Regions from separate parts of the Homo sapiens genome. Here regions 1, 3, 4, 5 and 6 are each linked to region 2. The links are contacts of gene promoters, found by promoter capture Hi-C in blood cells and fetal thymus (Javierre and others, 2016). All regions are on one chromosome and are shown on one strand. The core of a region is centred on a gene start or on the middle of the fragment in contact, and the rest is flanking DNA. Distances in the headings are between cores, read along the strand shown.

The links. The method cuts DNA at HindIII sites, captures the fragments that hold promoters and counts their contacts. A CHiCAGO score of 5 or more calls a contact.
Region 1: a fragment that was not itself captured here is called in contact with the fragment with the promoter of CCDC174 in region 2 in 7 of 17 cell types (monocytes, total B cells, neutrophils and 4 more); the score reaches 8.1 in monocytes.
Region 3: a fragment that was not itself captured here is called in contact with the fragment with the promoter of CCDC174 in region 2 in 2 of 17 cell types (fetal thymus and naive B cells); the score reaches 5.1 in fetal thymus.
Region 4: a fragment that was not itself captured here is called in contact with the fragment with the promoter of CCDC174 in region 2 in 1 of 17 cell types (total CD8 T cells); the score reaches 5.5 in total CD8 T cells.
Region 5: a contact is called between a fragment that was not itself captured here and the fragment with the promoter of CCDC174 in region 2, in 1 of 17 cell types (neutrophils). The highest score is 5.4, in neutrophils.
Region 6: a contact is called between a fragment that was not itself captured here and the fragment with the promoter of CCDC174 in region 2, in 1 of 17 cell types (non-activated CD4 T cells). The highest score is 6.8, in non-activated CD4 T cells.

The regions. Positions count from the first base shown.
Region 1 is chr3:14,130,079-14,132,778 of GRCh38, forward strand. It overlaps TMEM43 (transmembrane protein 43), which reads left to right. Exons shown (of 12, transcript NM_024334.3): 3 at 744-878; 4 at 1,502-1,596; 5 at 2,468-2,517. Among named protein-coding and RNA genes, the nearest start is that of TMEM43, 6.4 kb to the left of the region's middle. The HindIII fragment of the contact is 420 bases long and covers 1,080-1,499 here.
Region 2 is chr3:14,650,464-14,653,376 of GRCh38, forward strand. CCDC174 (coiled-coil domain containing 174) reads left to right here and starts at 1,299. Exons shown (of 11, transcript NM_016474.5): 1 at 1,299-1,415. The coding sequence starts at 1,374. LOC124909347 (a long non-coding RNA gene) reads right to left here and starts at 1,658. Exons shown (of 2, transcript XR_007095826.1): 1 at 1,206-1,658; 2 at 1-763. RefSeq lists enhancers at 840-1,498, 1,002-1,401, 1,542-1,611. The HindIII fragment of the contact is 1,793 bases long and covers 1,071-2,863 here.
Region 3 is chr3:15,212,142-15,215,108 of GRCh38, forward strand. It overlaps CAPN7 (calpain 7), which reads left to right. Exons shown (of 21, transcript NM_014296.3): 2 at 1-71. Among named protein-coding and RNA genes, the nearest start is that of CAPN7, 7.4 kb to the left of the region's middle. The HindIII fragment of the contact is 7,625 bases long and covers 1-2,967 here.
Region 4 is chr3:13,875,674-13,878,653 of GRCh38, forward strand. All of the region lies in intron 1 of WNT7A (Wnt family member 7A), which reads right to left. Among named protein-coding and RNA genes, the nearest start is that of WNT7A, 2.9 kb to the right of the region's middle. RefSeq lists an enhancer at 2,871-2,980. The HindIII fragment of the contact is 820 bases long and covers 1,104-1,923 here.
Region 5 is chr3:15,595,555-15,598,254 of GRCh38, forward strand. It overlaps HACL1 (2-hydroxyacyl-CoA lyase 1), which reads right to left. Exons shown (of 17, transcript NM_012260.4): 3 at 830-870. Among named protein-coding and RNA genes, the nearest start is that of HACL1, 4.7 kb to the right of the region's middle. The HindIII fragment of the contact is 4,835 bases long and covers 1-2,700 here.
Region 6 is chr3:13,899,814-13,902,513 of GRCh38, forward strand. The region is part of intron 2 of LOC105376957 (a long non-coding RNA gene); the gene reads left to right. Among named protein-coding and RNA genes, the nearest start is that of WNT7A, 21 kb to the left of the region's middle. The HindIII fragment of the contact is 1,445 bases long and covers 690-2,134 here.

The sequences.
Region 1 (2,700 bases), core at 40-2,539, 520 kb before region 2:
TTCTTGTTTGTTTGTTTCTTTCTTTCTCTCCCTCTCTCTTTCTTTTTCTCCTTTTTTTTAATAGGGCCTCATGATGCAACAGTATATTTCTAAATCAATTTAGCAGCAGTTACAGGGCCATCTCTCAGTGTCCTGGCTTGGCTCTCCGTCCTCTGAATCAGTCTCCGTGTCCAGGGCGCACTCACATGTTCTGACTGGCAAGGTCTGGGTCCCATAATCTGACCAGGGTTCAGATAGACTCAGGTAAACCACATGGGCTGAGTAGGAGAGAGGAGAGCCAGGCATGGAGGCTCAAGCCTGTAACCCCAGCACTTTGGGAGGCCAAGGAGGCAGGATCGCTTGAGGTCAGAAGTTCGAAAGCAGCCTGGGCAACATAGCAAGACCCCATTTCTACAAAAAACTTAAACATAAAAATAAAATTAAAAAAAAGAAGGCAGAGAAAAATGGGGAGAAAGGGACAGGCAGGCAGAAACATCAGCTGTTCCCACCACTGGGGCAGTGCTAAGATTGGTGGGGGCTAGTGGGAACCAATGGGGCAGTAGGAAGAAGTCTCCCTGGGAAAGCAGGAATCTGGGTTCCAGTCCTTACTCTCCACTTGCTAGACCTCAGTTTTCCAACTGTACGGTGGGGAGATGGGTCTCAGCGCTCCCGGAGGCCCCATCCTACCCTAATACTTTGCAACAAGCACAGTCATGCTGAGCCACCCCTGAGCTGTTGAAATCCCCACTCCCCTTTGCTCCCAGGGCCGCGCATTGAAGACGGCAACCTCATTGGCTGAGGGGCTCTCGCTTGTGGTGTCTCCCGACAGCATCCACAGTGTGGCTCCGGAGAATGAAGGAAGGCTGGTGCACATCATTGGCGCCTTACGGACATCCAAGGTAGGTTTGGCAGGGGATGCTGACCTGCCAGTGGCTCGGGGCTCATCCTGGATGTTGTCTGGCTGAGGATTTGAAAGCATGGGCCTTGGAGATGGTCACACATGGGAGTGATTCCCGACTTTACCACTCAGCAGCTGTGTGGACTTGTCTATCCTGAGTCTCAGTGTCTTCGTGTATAAAATGGGGACGGTAATGGTTACAAGCTTGTGGCCAGCCTTGAGGATTTGGTGAGATTAGGTAACTAACGCCTTGGTACAGTGGCTGGCACTCAGGGAGGTGCTCTCATGACTCTGATGACCATGTGTGTCCAGTGCAAGGCCACAAAACTACCCTGGGCACCAGAGCTTTCCTGTTATTTGAACACCCTGTACGCTGTTGGCACCATGCCATTGGGCCATGCAGCCCAGGCCTGTACTGTGAGGGTCACAGTCACAGGCACTGTGTGTAAAGAACCTGGGACAGGGAGTGTCCTCGATTCTCCCCTGCAAAGCAGTGTAGGGCTCTCCACCCTTGTCCCCTTCTCTATTTCTTCCTCTTCCAGTCCAGCTTCCCCTGAGCCAGGCTTTCTGGGCTGACGTGAATGTTATCCTTTATTTTTTTGGTTTCTTTGATTCTGTTTGAAGCTTTTGTCTGATCCAAACTATGGGGTCCATCTTCCGGCTGTGAAACTGCGGAGGCACGTGGAGATGTACCAATGGGTAGAAACTGAGGAGTCCAGGTGAGCTGTTGGGGTGAAAACTCTGTTGGGGTAAAGGAGGAGTGAAGTGTAGGTGTCAGGATAACATGCAGATGTCTTTCATTTTGATACCTTTGAAACTCAAGTATAACATCTTCCTATCAGAAAAGTGTGAAATGATCCCCAAATTAATAGCCAGTGATTTGGAAGTGGCAAAAATCCAGTGAAGAGTGGCTCCAGGAGGAAAGGGGGATTGAGTTGCTCCCACATCTGGGAAGTTCCAGAGATGCACAAGCTTGAAGCATGACTTGGAGCAGGCCTGAAACACTGTCATTAGGATCAGCATGTCAACCCCGAGACCCCACTGCATCTCTCTGTGTTCAGCCTTCCCATCAGCTGTGTTGGTCCCATCTTTGCTCTACTTACAGCTTATCGTTTCTGACAGGAGTCCCAGGGCAGGTTCTCATTGATCAGGGCTGGGGTCACCTGGAGCTGGGGGTGGGTTCAGCCCCACCTGAATCATATGGACTGTGACCGACAGGTGGGGAGGTGGTGGGAGGAGCAGGAGAAGGGCAGCTTCAAGAGGCCCCCCGCAGGGCTGTCCTGGAGCAGAGGATGCAGCCAGATCTCTGAGCCCAAAGGGCAGGGCTGGGCCCCTTGGTGTAAGGCCAGTGCGGGCAGATTTCAGCTCAGGATGGGAGAGCGCTTTCCTCCAGGTAGCGCCTTGGAGGGCAGGAGCTGGCTGTCTGTCAGGAGTGAGTGCCCTGTCTTGGGGCTGGTGTAGAGAAGGCATCTGCCGTATCTGGGGAGTCTGATCTGGTAGCCCTGAGGTTGCTTCCTGCTCAGATGCTTAGAGATTAGACTGCCTGGGGCGACGAGGCTAACCCCCGTGGCTGCTTTGCTTTCCCTGCAGGGAGTACACCGAGGATGGGCAGGTGAAGAAGGAGACGAGGTATTCCTACAGTGAGTGCTGGGCCCCTTACGTGGTCTCTGCCCATGGTGGGGGCCCACAGTGGTGGCTGGACAGCAGGGCTGTTGGTGGGGCCATGGGAAGGATTCAGCACCAGGCATCAGGATCCCTGGGTGCAAGTCTTCAGAGCCCTGCTTTCCCACCCATCCATTGAGGCTCCCTGACCCACCCCTTTG
Region 2 (2,913 bases), core at 49-2,548:
AGCGGCCTCCTGCATACCTAGGCATGTGGTCCCACTCTCCCTCTTCAAAGCATCTCTGATCTCTGTCTGACTCTGGCCATCCTGTCTACCCCTTATAAGGATGGTTTTGATGATAGGGGACCCACCTGCACAATCCAGGCTAGCTCCCCATCTCAATCGCTTTAATTTCATCATCTCTGCCAATTCTCTTTTGCTATATAAAGGTCACCATATACCCAGATTCTGGGGATTAGAAGGTAGACATCTGGGAGTCGGGGTGAGGGTGATTGGTCTGTCTACCATAATCATTAACATTTTTATCAAGACTAGCTCATTTAACTCATCTAATCCTCACTAAGACCCATTAGGTAAATAAAATTATATCCCCCTTTGGAAACTGAGGCACACGGAAGTTAAGTAACTTGCCCAAGGTCACACAAGCAGTAAGCCGTGAAGAGCGATTCCAACCCAGAAAGTCAGCTTTCGAGTTCACGTGTTCTTTGTTTTTTTTTTTTTTGATCTCGACTCACTGCAACCTCCACCTCCCAGGTTCAAGCGATTCTTCTGCCTCAGCCTCCTGAGTAGCTGGGAATACAGGCGCGCACCACCACGCTCGGCTAATTTTTTTTTTTTCTTGTATTTTCAGCAGAGACGGGGTTTCACCATGTTGGTCAGGCTGGTCTCAAACTCCTGACCTCCTGATCCACCCGCCTCAGCCTCCCAAAGTGCTGGGATTACAGGCGTGAGCCACCGCGCCCGGCCCAGGAGTTCACGTTCTTAAGAGCTGAAATATGTAAAGTGGCCCATAATAAGCACTACATTAATGTTAGCTATTATTCTTGTTATTTCTACTAAGATTAATATAATAATCCTTATCTCGTACGCTCTTTTAAGAACCAACTATTTAACGTGTGAAAAGTGCCAGGCAGCAGGTCCTGGAATTGCAGTTAAGATTCTTCCGGTCCTCCCAATCCACCTTTCCCGAGACGCTCGAGTTCACTTACTTAAGCGTCAGCCTTCCCCAAGATGGCGTTATCTTTGTCGCCAACCCCACATCCGCCCCACCCAATATGGCGTCCATCGCAATCAAAAGCTTTATTCCGCCCTTCTCAAGATGGCGCCCACACCAATCCTTGTTACCTTCCGCCCTCAAGATGACCTTAGCAGTTAGCGTCAACCTCCGCACTCTATGACCTTTCCAAAATGATGGTGAACGTAATACGCACCACACTCTGACCTTCTCAAGATGGCGCTGAGCTGACAAACTCGCGTCGCAAACTCACGCAAACTCAGTGTCGCTGTCGAAGACACTTCCGGTTGCGACGGAGGTAGGCTTACGAGGCCTGTGTCGGGTAGAAAGGGTCCTTCCTGGACCGGGACCCTCTGCCACGACCATGGACCGTAGGAAAAAGCCTTTGGACGTCACGGCCTCCTCGGTGAGTGAGGGTATGAGGTAACTCCACGGGCTCCGGGTTCACCGTGTCTCCATCAGACAAGAATGTCGACCTAGCTTGTTTCTTCACTCGGGGACCCAGAGACCTGACCTCTCCCCTCAAACAGGAACCCCCGAACTGGATTTTCTTCTCCGGCGGGGATCCGGTTCAGTTTTCTTACAGGACCCTGAATTGGGCTACTCTCCTCTGACATGCGCCCGGGCCAGAACCCTCGGACACGGATCTGAACCTGGTGTCCCGTGGGTTAGGAAACTCCGTGCCTCACCTCTGCCCTGCCCACAAGGACCTGCACCTCGTCAGCCTTCTCCCTTACAGTCAGGAGGAACCCTAGCTTCTTTTTGCTATGCAGACATATCCTCTTCCTGGTTTCTCCTCCATCCAGGGACCCACAAAGTCCTCCCAGAACTTTAGAGTGTGACATATTTCGCAGGACCCGAAAGTGTCCAGCGTGCCCTCCCTGGAACTAAACAGTTGTTAATGCAGGCATAGGGAGTTGTGAGGTCTGAAAGGATGTAAGCAGATTTATTACATCAGCTACTCTAGAAAGAAAACTTGTTCTAAGTACACATTTTGTGCCAGCACTTTATATGCACTATCTCATTGAATCCTCCCAATGGCTTTAGGAGGTAGGTGCTATTAATATCTCCGTTTTATGGATGATGAAATTGAGGCCTGGAAAGATGAAGTAGCTTTCCCCAGCTTACAGACAGAAATCTTAGTGATAGCCGGGCGCGGTGACTCACGCCTGTAATCCCAACACTTTGGGAGGCTGAGGCGGGCAGATCACCTGAGGTCGGGAGTTTGAGACCAGTCTGACCAACATGGAGAAACCCCGTCTCTACTAAAAATAAAAAAATTAGCCGGGCGTGGTGGTGCACGCCTGTAATCCCAGCTACTCGGGAAGCTGAGGCAGGAGAATCGCTTGAACCGGGGAGGCGGAGGTTGCGGTGAGCCGAGATCGCGCAATTGCACTCCAACCTGGGCAACAAGAGCGAAACTCCGTCTAAGGGGCGGGGGGCGGGGGGAAGAAATCTTAGTGATAGACCCTTTCTCACTCACTCTACTTGACTCCAAAGCTGCTGCCTTTTCATCATCAGAGCAAATTGCCCAACCTTTGATTTAATCTTGAATTTACTTCAGAGTATTAGGACACAAAGTGAGTAGGAAGGAAAACATATAGGTGTCCCAATATTTGAGTACTAGTTATTATTGGTAACTATTATTGGTTAAAATTGGTACCAGTTATTATTTTGTTTGAAGATCAGGAACCAGAAAGCTATAAATATTAAAGCCAACCTATACTGACAGGTTAGCAGTAATTGTAATAAGAATGCTATTTGAGAATTTACATTTTTTTGAGCATCTCTTAAAGTTAAAGGCAGTTGTAGACTAGGAAGATATGTGGCTGGAAAATTTGGTGTGGTTAAGTAAGCTTAGAAGAAAAAGTAGAAGTTTTTCATTTGTTTTTAAAAATTTCCAG
Region 3 (2,967 bases), core at 297-2,796, 560 kb after region 2:
ATCAAGCCTAGAAAATATTCAAGAAAAAATAACTGAGTATCTGGAAAGAGTTCAAGCTCTACATTCAGCAGGTTAGTAAAGGACTACTAAACTTGTCACTCTATTTTTTCTTTTCTCCCATCATGTCTTTCCCCCATGTTTGTTTCTCTTCTTCATTTTTATCTTTGAATCTTGATGCTCACTCTGTTGCTGCTCATTCCACTTTTGGTAATCACCTCTTTAAAAGTCATTTAGAAATAAGTCATAGATCTTTGAAGAGGAACCTTATAGACAATATAGTCCAGTTTCCTAATTTCCCAGAGTGCAGAGATGGTGAATTACCTATGTTCAAACAATTTATCATTGGCAAAGTTAGGATTAGGATTCAGTTAAAGTCTGCTTTTAAAATATCTGTCACGTCTCTTCCTTATAAAATTAAGTGACTGTTCCTCTTCAGTGTTTACAGACTTCAGCAGTAGGTTCACAGTGTCTTCTCTTTCGGTGTCTTCTACTTTCAGACCTTTGCTAAACTCTTTAAAACCATATCTTGGGAAAGTGACATGTAAACAGAGACTTGGAACTACTTGTATTTATTTTTGTAAACAGCACAACAGGTACAATAATAGAAATATATAGTCTTAATGGTCACAGTTTTGTTAGAGGTAACTGATGTTGACATTGTATTTACAAATACATTGATTTCTGTAGGGATTCTTTTTAACCCTCTTTTTCTGTTGCTGCATGATAAAGCGCCAAGCAGAAGAATATTTATTCTCATGGACTTTGTGTAACTTTCTACCACTCATTTTGAGTAGATACGAGCAATTACAAGAACATCGTTGGGATAAAGTAGATTTAATCATTGGATTCCTTGTTATGACAGTTCCCTTAAAAACAAGGCGGTTTACTTTTAATACAGTGCCCAGAAATTGCATGTATTGAAAAGTGTACTGCCTGTGTTATTGGAACCTCACTTGATACAAAGTATTGATTCATGTATTCAAAATATCATATAAAATTCAAAGGAACTTTCTTTTCCCAGCCAAGTAAATGAAGTTCTTAAATTTAACTGCCCAATATTAGGAACTTTGTTTCATAACCAGTGTTTTCAAATAAAATTATCTTTGAAGTAGGGAAGGTAGTCTTTCATGTTTACTTCCATGATCTCCTTGTTTTTTCATAGATAGTTTTCTTCATTTCAATAACTATGTATTGAATACATGTTTGGGCTCTATGGTAAGTACAGGGTAATAGATGAGTGACAGTCCATGTCCTCAGGAGGACTTCATCAGGTGTGGAGAGAGAACAGTGTCAACATTGCACTATCATGGAAACCCCTTTCTGAAGCATGCTAGACTAAATGTTAAAGCAGAATGCTCTAGAAAGGAGAGATTATATGGTGATATTATTCCAGGAGTAGAATCTCTGGCAGCCTAAGGTATATTTCCATCTTTCTTTTCCATATGTACACACAGTCAAGCACATTTATGCCCTAGGGTCTTGATTCCAGTAAGATTGCTCTTTAAACCCTTGAAATCCTTGTGACAATTGGAAAAAATAAATATGAATCATTTTTTTCTAAGGAATTTTAAAAATTATTCTTACTTTATATTAAATACAGCTAAGCCTAAAAACTTACATGTGATTTTTGGGAAATAAATTCTAAACATTGATATATATGTGATATTCAAGCATCAAATGAGACACCCCAATCTCTTGAAGAATAAAGACTTGCCAGTGAAATAGAGTTCAAAAAGGATTTTTTTTTTTTTTTTTTGAGGTGGAGTCTCGTTCTGTCTTCCAGGCTGGAGTGCAGTGGCGCGATCTCAGCTCACTGCCAAGTTCCGCCTCCGGGGTTCACGCCATTCTCCTGCGTCAGCCTCCCCAGTAGCTGAGACTACAGGCGCCTGCCACCACACCCAGCTGATTTTTTATATTTTTAGTAGAGACAGGATTTCACCATGTTAGCCAGGATGGTCTCGATCTCCTGACCTCGTGATCCACCCGCCTCGGCCTCCCAAAGTGCTGGGATTACAGGCGTGAGCCACCATGCCTGGCCTTAAAAAGGATTTTTAAAGCATAACATAGCTTGTTTTACCAACTTCTTTCTGCTTTTGTTGAAGAAATGGAGTATAATCTCTAGACAATTTAAAGGATTTTCTTATTTATTATTTTAAGCAGAAAAGTCCTTTTTCAAATAAAAATCCTGTTAGGAACCCTAAGTTTTAAAACAAGATAGTCTGCTGACAGTTAAGAGAATCCTGAGAGAGAGTTGATTTTGGGGTGGGGAAAGGTAACATAATTTAAAATTAACCAGTATAGGCCGGCACAGTGGCTCATGCCTGTAATCCCAGCACTTTGGGAAGCTGAGGCAGGAGAATCCCTTGAATCTAGGAGTTCAAGATCAGCCTAGGCAACATAGACTTCACCCCTACAAAAATTGAAAAAATTTGCTGGGCATGGTGGTGTGTGCCTGTAGTCCCAGCTCCTCAGAGGTTGAGGCAGGAAGATTGCTTGAGCCCAGGAGGTTGAGGCTGCACTGACCCGTGATTACACCACTGCCCTCAGCCTGGATGACAGAGTAAGACCCTGTCTCGAAAAATAAAAAGTAAAATTAACCGTCGTAGTACAGAGTTCAAGACTTGGAATTAAAAGATCCCTGTTGAGTCTCTACCCTTTCACTTGTAGCTGTGAAATCTTAGACTAGATCAATGGGTCTCAGTAGAAAGCAATTTGCCCCCCAGGGGACATTTGGCAATTTCTGGAGAAGTTTTTGGTTTTCACGCTGCTGGGTGGCAAGGAATATGCTTCTGGGATTTAGCTGGGTAGAGGCCAAGGCTGTTGCTAAAAAGTCTCCCACAACAAAGAATTATCCAGCCCAAAATGTCAATAATGCCAGGCTGAGAAACACTGGGCTAGATATTTCAACATTTTTGAGCTTTGGTATCTTTTTCATCAATGGAATTAGTATATACTTCAGAGAGGCAT
Region 4 (2,980 bases), core at 264-2,763, 770 kb before region 2:
TATATGTAACATATACTCTCATGTATGTATATGTTTTATTGTTGGAAAAAAAACTTAAAAAGTAATTGTAAGTAGAAGTCCTGGCATTTTCTTCCTGCTGTCAATGGAGTACATGTATCCCACTCCGGGCATGACTGGCCTAGAGGATGTGTGCGACTATTATGAGGAGAATTCCTATCTTCCTCAACTATTCACTGATATATATCGGATACCCATCATGTGCCACGTACCATGCTAGGAGACAGCTGTGCACCTGACAGGCAATGCCCTGCCCTCAAGGAACTAGGGAGGGTGACAACACAGATGTCACAAATGAATAAAACAGGCCATCTCGACAGTGATATGTACTATGAAGAAAGTAAAGGAAGATGCTGGGATGGCAACTGGGGTGTGGGGGTGGTGAGGAAAGTGAGGGCCACTTTAGCTGAGGTGATCAAGAGGACTTCCTTGAGGAGTTGACATTAGAACAGAACAGAGATCTGAATTGCCAGGAGGCATCTGTGGGAAGATCTGGAGAAGGGTATTCTATGCAGAGGGAACAGAAAATGCAAAGTTCTAGGAGACAAGTTCGGGGTCTTCAAGGAATAGAAAGAACCCATGGAAACTGCTACAAAGCCAGGGCTTGAGATGCAGGGAGATCCTGGGAAGAGGAGATGGCTGAGGGCTGGCATTTTCTCAGGTGCATCAGGCAGCACCAGGAAGCACTGAAGGGTGTAAGCAGGACACTGACATGACCTGGTGGTCCCCACTCCATGTAGGAAAGACCTGTGGGGTGCCAGAGCAGGAGCAGAGGGACTAGGCAGGTTAGGGTTGGTGGTGGCTTGGCTTGGTGGCAGTGGTAGGGCTGCAGGTAGAGCCACTGGACAAGTGCCTCGTCCTGGGGCTCAGCTGTGGGCAGTTTTCTGGAGTTGCAATTTGTTAGAGTGAGGTTCTCCTGTACCAATAACTCAAGGAGGTGACATGGACCCATGCCCTCCAAGCGCACAACTGATCACTCCTGCCGTTTCCCTAGGCTCCTGCCACGTGCCAGCCTTCTCCCTGCAGTAGGCACTCTGTCCTTGCTCCTCCTCTCCCTGGAAGCGCTCTCACCCCTGATCTTCACAAGCTTGGCTTCTTGCCATTATTCACATGACCTCAAGGGTCACCTCCCTGACCAGCCCAGCTAAGGGCTCCTCCCTCCCCTCCCTACCCCTAATAAATTCCCATCACAATCTCTGTTTTGTTTACTGGATATTCTTGATTACTCATGGTCTACTGAAATGTTTTCATGTCTGTGTTTTTAATTTGCATGCTCACTTGATCACTTGTCTTCCTCCTGAGAGGATGAGCTCCCTGAGGGCAGGGAGGCTGTCTGCTGGTTCACTAAATGACTGCTGAATAAATGGATTGTGGCACTTCAAAGATGTGGCTCCGGGTGAGTACCTATTACATGGCAGGTGCCCCCCAAATATGCATCAAATGCATCAGTAAACTTGGGCAGTGTCCCTACTATGTGCCAAGGCAGTATGGTGGGTGCTGCCACAAACAGCAGCTCATGTGACCTTTCCACACAGCCCTGTGGGGCAAGAATCATCACATCCGTTTCACATATTTGAAAATTGAGGCTCACAGAGGTTGGGACCTGGAGGAAGGTTCTCAGCTAGCAGGTGTTGGAGGTGGGACAGCCTGGCTTTGCACTGGCATCTCAGCGCTAAACCCGAGTCTAACACACACTAGAATGCTGGGAATGTCTGAGGAAGAAGCAGCATGAGAAGATTAAGTGGAGACGTTTTGGCATCATTTGTCAGGAGGACCCTCTGAGCACCTAGCTGGCCACCAGGAAATTTCTACACCAGCTGAGAGTGGATAGGTTGGCATACTGGGGCCAAAAATTCATAGGTGCAATAGACTAGCCCCTAAGGGTCTGGCCTAGGTTCTCATCCAAGCTTCCTTCACTTATTAGTTGTGCGATCTTAGGCAAGTTTCCTTCCCTCTGCACTTCAGTTTCTCCATGGCTAAATTAGGGTATTGATAACTAGTCCCCACCTCATTGGCTGCTGTGAAAATCAAATGTGCTAGAACATGGAAAGTGCTTAGAAGGTGCCAGGCACATAGTGAGTGCCCCATAAATGTGGTGGTGGTGTTGTAATTATCATTATCGTTATCGGATCTGATTGTTGCAATAGGCTAGTGCGGAGTCACCTGAACTATCCGAGCAAAATAAGAATACCGCAGATGCCCCACCATCAGCCAGAAGCGGGTAGAGCCGTCACGTCTGGGGAAATGGAAAAACCTTTTAGGGACGTTGAGACTTCACCCCTCATGTCCACTATACAGATGAGTAGCCCGAGGCGCAGGGAGCAGCAGGGCCTGGCCCGAAGTCACCTGCAACTCCCACCTCTCCGACCTGGACCTCTCCCTACCCCAGAGGGCAGCTTGGGGCGGAAAGCCAGCGCCCTGCAGGACTCCCTCCCTCCCTCCCTGCCGGGCAGCTGGGCCCCCGCAGGGCCAATCCGGGGAGGCCGCGGCGCCGGCGGGAGGGCGGCCCGCGGGCGGGCGGGGCGGCCAGGGGAGGTTATTTTCTGCTGTTTTCCCTTTCTGTCTCCCCCGCCACCCGTGTCCCTCCTCCCCGTTTCTAATTAAAAAGGAGATAAAGCCGCACGCGGCCCGAGTCAATCGGCTCGAGCCAATCGGCCCTACTGGCTTCCTGGATGCTGAATGTGCGCGGGGCGGCGGGGCGCGGGCCAAGATGAAGATTAAAGCAGGGGAAAAAAAGGAAAGCCACCCAGACGCGGGCGAATCAATAACACTTAAAACACACCGGCAGGCTGGCGGTACTGGCGCGAGCCCCGCAGCCGCCTCTCCGCCGCTGGTCGGGCTGGCGGCCCCTGGTCGGCTCTGCACGCACCTGCTAGCGGCCGCGGCCGGACAACTTGCGAAATCCCCGCTCCAGAGACGTGGACTGGGGAAGTGACGGGGTAGGGGGGTAGTAGTGACAAAA
Region 5 (2,700 bases), core at 67-2,566, 950 kb after region 2:
CAATTCTTAACAGTTCTGAGATCATAGGTGATTTTCTTCATCTTTTTTCCTTTTTTTTTTTTTTTTTTTTTTTGAGACGGAGTCTCACTCTATCACCCAGGCTGGAGTGCAGTGGCGCAATCTCAGCTCACTGCAACCTCCGCCTCCTGGGTTCAAGCCGATTCTCCTGCCTCAGCCTCCCGAGTAGCTGGGATTACAGACGCATGCCACCACACCAGGGTGATTTTTGTATTTTTAGTAGAGATGGTGTTTCACCATGTTGGCCAAGCTGGTCTCAAACTCCTGACCTCAGGTGATCCACCTGCCTCAGCCTCCCAAAGTGCTGGGATTACAGGCGTGACCCACCGTGCCTAGTCGATTTTCATTTTCTTCTTTGTGCTTTCTATATTTTCCAAGTTTTCCAAAATGGACATTTTAAAAATGTATTAATTTTTAATAATAAAAAGGGGGTGGTAGTTAGGTAACATGGATACACACTAAAAAATCAGAACGTGTGGAACAGCTCTCAACAGTCACATTTTGAACCAAGCATTTTTGTATTAAGTGTGCTGGGGTAGTTGTGAGATCCAAGACAAGGTATCATACATCAACTCACTATCTGATCACCAGTGATTCACTCTACAAAATGGCAATGTGTTCCACTCTGAAACACTTCTGGTATCATTATTCTTTTGATGTGGTCCTCAGAGAGTTTTAAATGTTTTTTATCCTTTGTTATTTAATATATTTTTCTATAATCTTTCCAAATGAACTCATCCTTCAGCTGAAAGACGTAATAGTTCTACCCCAAAATATTAAAGTAATTGAAGTGAAACAAATTTTAGTTTACCTGCTTGTCAGATATCCAATCGCGGAGGCAGCATAACAAGCCTACGAGAAAACAACACTGGGACTTGAGCATATTGGGATCCTTATAGTACATTTATGACAGCAACTTACTATTAAATAATAGACAAGAACATAGTGGTAAAGGCAGAATTAAAATATTTCCAACCTTAGTAATAAATGTTCTACACATAAATTTCAAATAATGGTTATCTAAATTTTAGTTTTTCAGGAAATTTGTTCATATGTATGTTATTCAAAACATCCTCTTACAATTGCTTAAATATCTGCAGGATCAATAGGAATGTCCTCTTTTATTAACAATATTGGTAATTTGTTTTCTTTCTTTTATTCTTCATCAGTCTCATGAGGGGTTTATCAAATTTATCCATCTTTTCAAAGAACAAATTTTTTTAGTTCTTCGAAAATTTTTGTTGGTTTTTCTCTATTGTTTGTTTTCTATTTCATTGATTTCTGTTCTTGTATTTATTATTTCAGTCATTTTGAATTTGATTTGCTTTTCTTTTTCTAGCTTCTTAAAATACAAATTTAGAACACTGGTTTTTAATTTTCTTTACTAATAATTTGTTTAAAATGATTCCAAGAACTGCTTTAGTTATAGGTTACAAGTTTGAGTTGCATCTTTTCATTATCATTCTATTCAAAATATTTTCTACTTTCCATTGTGATTTCTTCTTCAACCCATTGGTTAATTAGGATCTGTAGTGATACCTCCTTTTTCATTCCTGACATTGGTAATCTGTTTTCTCTTTTATTCTCAATCAGTCTATCTTGAAGTTTATTCATTTTGTTAATCTTTTCAAATATTTACAAAATACCAAAAAGTATGTTGCTTAATTTCCAAAGGTCTGAGATTCTTTTTAGTGATCTCTTATTGAGTTCCACTTTACTTCCACATGGTCAGGTGACATATACTGCACGCTTTCAATCCTTGGCGATTTATTGAGATTTCCTTTATGGCCTGCATATGGATAGTTTTTACCTTGTAACTCTACTTCAGCTCATAATCAGGAAGAGAGGGGGCACTAAATTAAATGCACACAAGATAACCTGGGAAAATGCTGAGTGCTCTCTCAAATTCTTCTTAGTCTGGGACATCATTTTTTTCCCAGTATTATTTCTTCTCATTTCTTTAGAAATAATAATGAATTGCGTATTTCCTAGCCTTCATTCAGCTTTAAATGAAGTAGTATACTGTCTTAAAGAACTCCACATTAACGACATAAATGTGGAAAAAAAAAAAAAGGAAATGTTTATGGATCATAATCTTAACTGGCTCTACTATCATACACCCACTGAGAACCTGCACAAAGACTCTGCTCTTTTCCTGTGTCGCTATTCTCTACTGGCCCCATCTCTCTTTCCTTTTGCACATAAGGCCAAATTCACATTAGGAGAATAAGACAACTCCTAAGAAATGCAGGCATGTAAATACCTGCTGCAATAAGAACACTTTATTTAGACACCCAAAAGAATTGCCCACTTATGATAGCTAGGTAAGAAATGTTGCTAGGCAATGCAAAATATACAACAACACGTAACAAAAAGTATATTCCTCTGGTAGGAAATGTCAAAAGTTGAGAGGTAACTGTTTTGTTTTGTTTTATTTTGTTTTGTTTTGTTTTTTTTTTTTGAGACAGAGTTTCGGAGTTTCGCTCTTGTTGCCCAGGCTGGAGTGCAATGATGCAATATTGGCTCACGGCAACCTCCACCTCCCAGGTTCAAGCAATTCTCCTGCCTCAGCTTCCCGAGCAGCTGGCATTACAAACATGCACCACCACGCCTGGCTAATTTTATATTTTTAGAAACGGGGTTTCTCCATGTTGGTCAGGCTGGTCTCAAACTCCTGACCTC
Region 6 (2,700 bases), core at 162-2,661, 750 kb before region 2:
AAGAAGAAAGGTGGGGCCACCTTGCATTGAAGACCACTAAGAAAGTGAGCAGGAGAGTGACTAAGAGGGAACCATTAGTTTTGGCACCATGAATGTTACTTGAGGCTCTCAGTGGAACCAGTGTCCTTTCCTTCAGATGCAGGAAACAGAAGCCAGTTGGATGCATTCTGGGAGAATAGGAGTTGAGGAAATGGAGGCAACAACCATAGATAGATACTTTTTATGACTAAAGAGAATGAGATGAAAGGATACCCACCCAGGGTATTAACACTGGTGGGCTCTGAGATATGGGATCAGGCTCATTCAGGAAAGTCTGTATATTGTTCTCATTTGTGGCCACTGAACTCTCTGTTTTGCTACCATGCAAATCAGCTATGAATTGGAGATATATTTTTTTAAAGTATAGAACTAAGACTCTTGGACTGCTGAGGGGCACTGTGTGTGTGTGTGTGTGTGTGTGTGTGTGTGTGTGTGTCTAGGCATGCTCTCAACACTTGGAGAGGCAGTTCATGACCCTGTCTTAGATTTTACTTCTGGCTCGTGCAGAGCTTCCTGGACAGCCTCAGGTGAGAACCTAGGGCCTTGTCATGTCTTTCCTAGCATACTTATAGTCCTGAGTATGCATGCTATTCCTATGCATGCTTAAAGCCCCCCATGGACACTTTGTTCCCTGGATTTTACTTTTTAAAAGCTTTTTTGGTTAGCTTGTTATTTGATCCACTCTTATCACTACCTCAGGCAGCTGCAGTATTAAACACTTGCCATTGATGATTTTTGATGAATGCCTGTGGAGAAAAGGCCTTTCACACTGCAGGAAATCTGAGTGAGGTAAAATAAAGAGAAGACCTTTGAGTGGCGCTTTCTTAGGAAGCTCCAGATTAAATAAGGACAGTTGTCTAGGATTGGGGTGTTGGATGTTTCAACCTGTTCTTCCTCTCCAGTAGCTGCTAGGTTGCAGATTTTAACTATGATTACTGATTTTTGATTTTCAAAGGTGCTGTGCAGTTGGGATAAAGTGAGTAAGAATAGAGCAATTTATATGCCAAAAGAAATGCTGTCCTTACCAATATTCAGCCATTTTCTTGAATAAATGCTCTCTGGATTATTATAAGATTTTGGTTAATTTCTAGAGTTCTGAAAGACTTGATTTCAATAATTATTGCCTGTGTTCCCATTGCTTTTATGGAGTAGGGGAGTTTTGGAGGTCCTTATTCTGCCATTCCCTTCTGACATCACTCTAGCTGCTATTTCTAGTAACTCCGTTTCCTGTCCAGTCCTCTTTGTGCTTACTCTCTGTTCTATATACTTTCTCTTTCATCTTTTCATCTTCCTTCTGATTATTTTATTGGCTTTCTGCATAATGCAAGATCATGTTTGAAATTACTCAAATGTTATCTTCCCTGAATTGTTTATTTCTGCACCAGTTGTCTTACAATGAGTACTTTTTCAGCTAGGGAAGAGGTCATTTGCAATTGAGCTCTCAATAGTTCTAGAAGGTGAGACATGAAACATACAATAGGACAATTCTGAACAAGGGTATTCCTAAGTTGACTGAAAGAATATTCACAAGGAAAAGCTCTTTGTAAAATTTATTTCAAAAGGAGGGGAGGGAGACTTGAAGCTAGGTACATTCATCTTCAATAAAGCATTGACTGTGGAGAAAGGAAATGAATATAGTAAAATTGGAAGCCAGTTTTTATCTGAGCTCAAAGCTAATTCCTCCAAGGAAAGCAGCATCTCATAGTTATTTGAGGGCATTTGAAGTGTAATTTTGATACAGTTGAGAGAAACTGTGCTAGCAAGAAATATTATAAACATAAAAATGTGGGAAATTATTAGTTCAACCTATGCATGTGTAAAACTTTTTTTAATATAATAATGTGGGACAACTTTCAGTTATAACAAACTTCATAAGACATCAAGAGGTTCATAGTGTAGAGGTTCCTATAAGTGTAATAAATGTAGGAAGGCCTTCACTAGAAAATTCCACTTCATTGTGCATAGAGAAGTCATACTGGAGAGAATTTTTATGATTTTAATTAAAGTAAAAAGCCACAGTACCAGGGGTTAAAATTCTTTAGCCACCCAAAATTTGTAGAAATGATAATCCTAATCAATATAACAAATATGGCAAAGCTTTCTTCAGTGGATAATACTTTATTGTATATCAGAAGAATCACACAGGAGGGGAAATTAGATTCCTATAGCTGCCAAAACAGATAAGCACAAATTGGGTGGCTTAAAACAACAGGAGTTTATTCTCTCACAGCTTAAGAGGCCAGAAGTCAGAAATAAAGGGATTTGGGAAGTTTGTTCCTTCTGGAGGCTCTCAAGAAGAAACTGTTCTATGCCCTTCTCCTAGATTCTGCTGGTTGCCAGTAATTTTTGGCATTGCTTGATGTGTAGCTATATCACTCCAGTCTCCATCCTCACATGGCTTTCTTCTCTGTGTGTGTCTCTGTCTCTTCTACTCTTCTTGTAAGGAAACCAGTCATCATATTTAGGGCATATCCTAATTTCAGTATGACTTTATCTTCAATAATTACATCTGAAAAGACCCCATTCCAAATAAAGTTACATTCCAAGATTCTGGGTGGATGTGAATTTTGAGGGGGAGGTGGACACTATTCAACCCACTACAAACCCCGTGAATGTAGTAAATGTGAGAAACCTTGTACCTGTAGCTCAGTTTCTGTACAA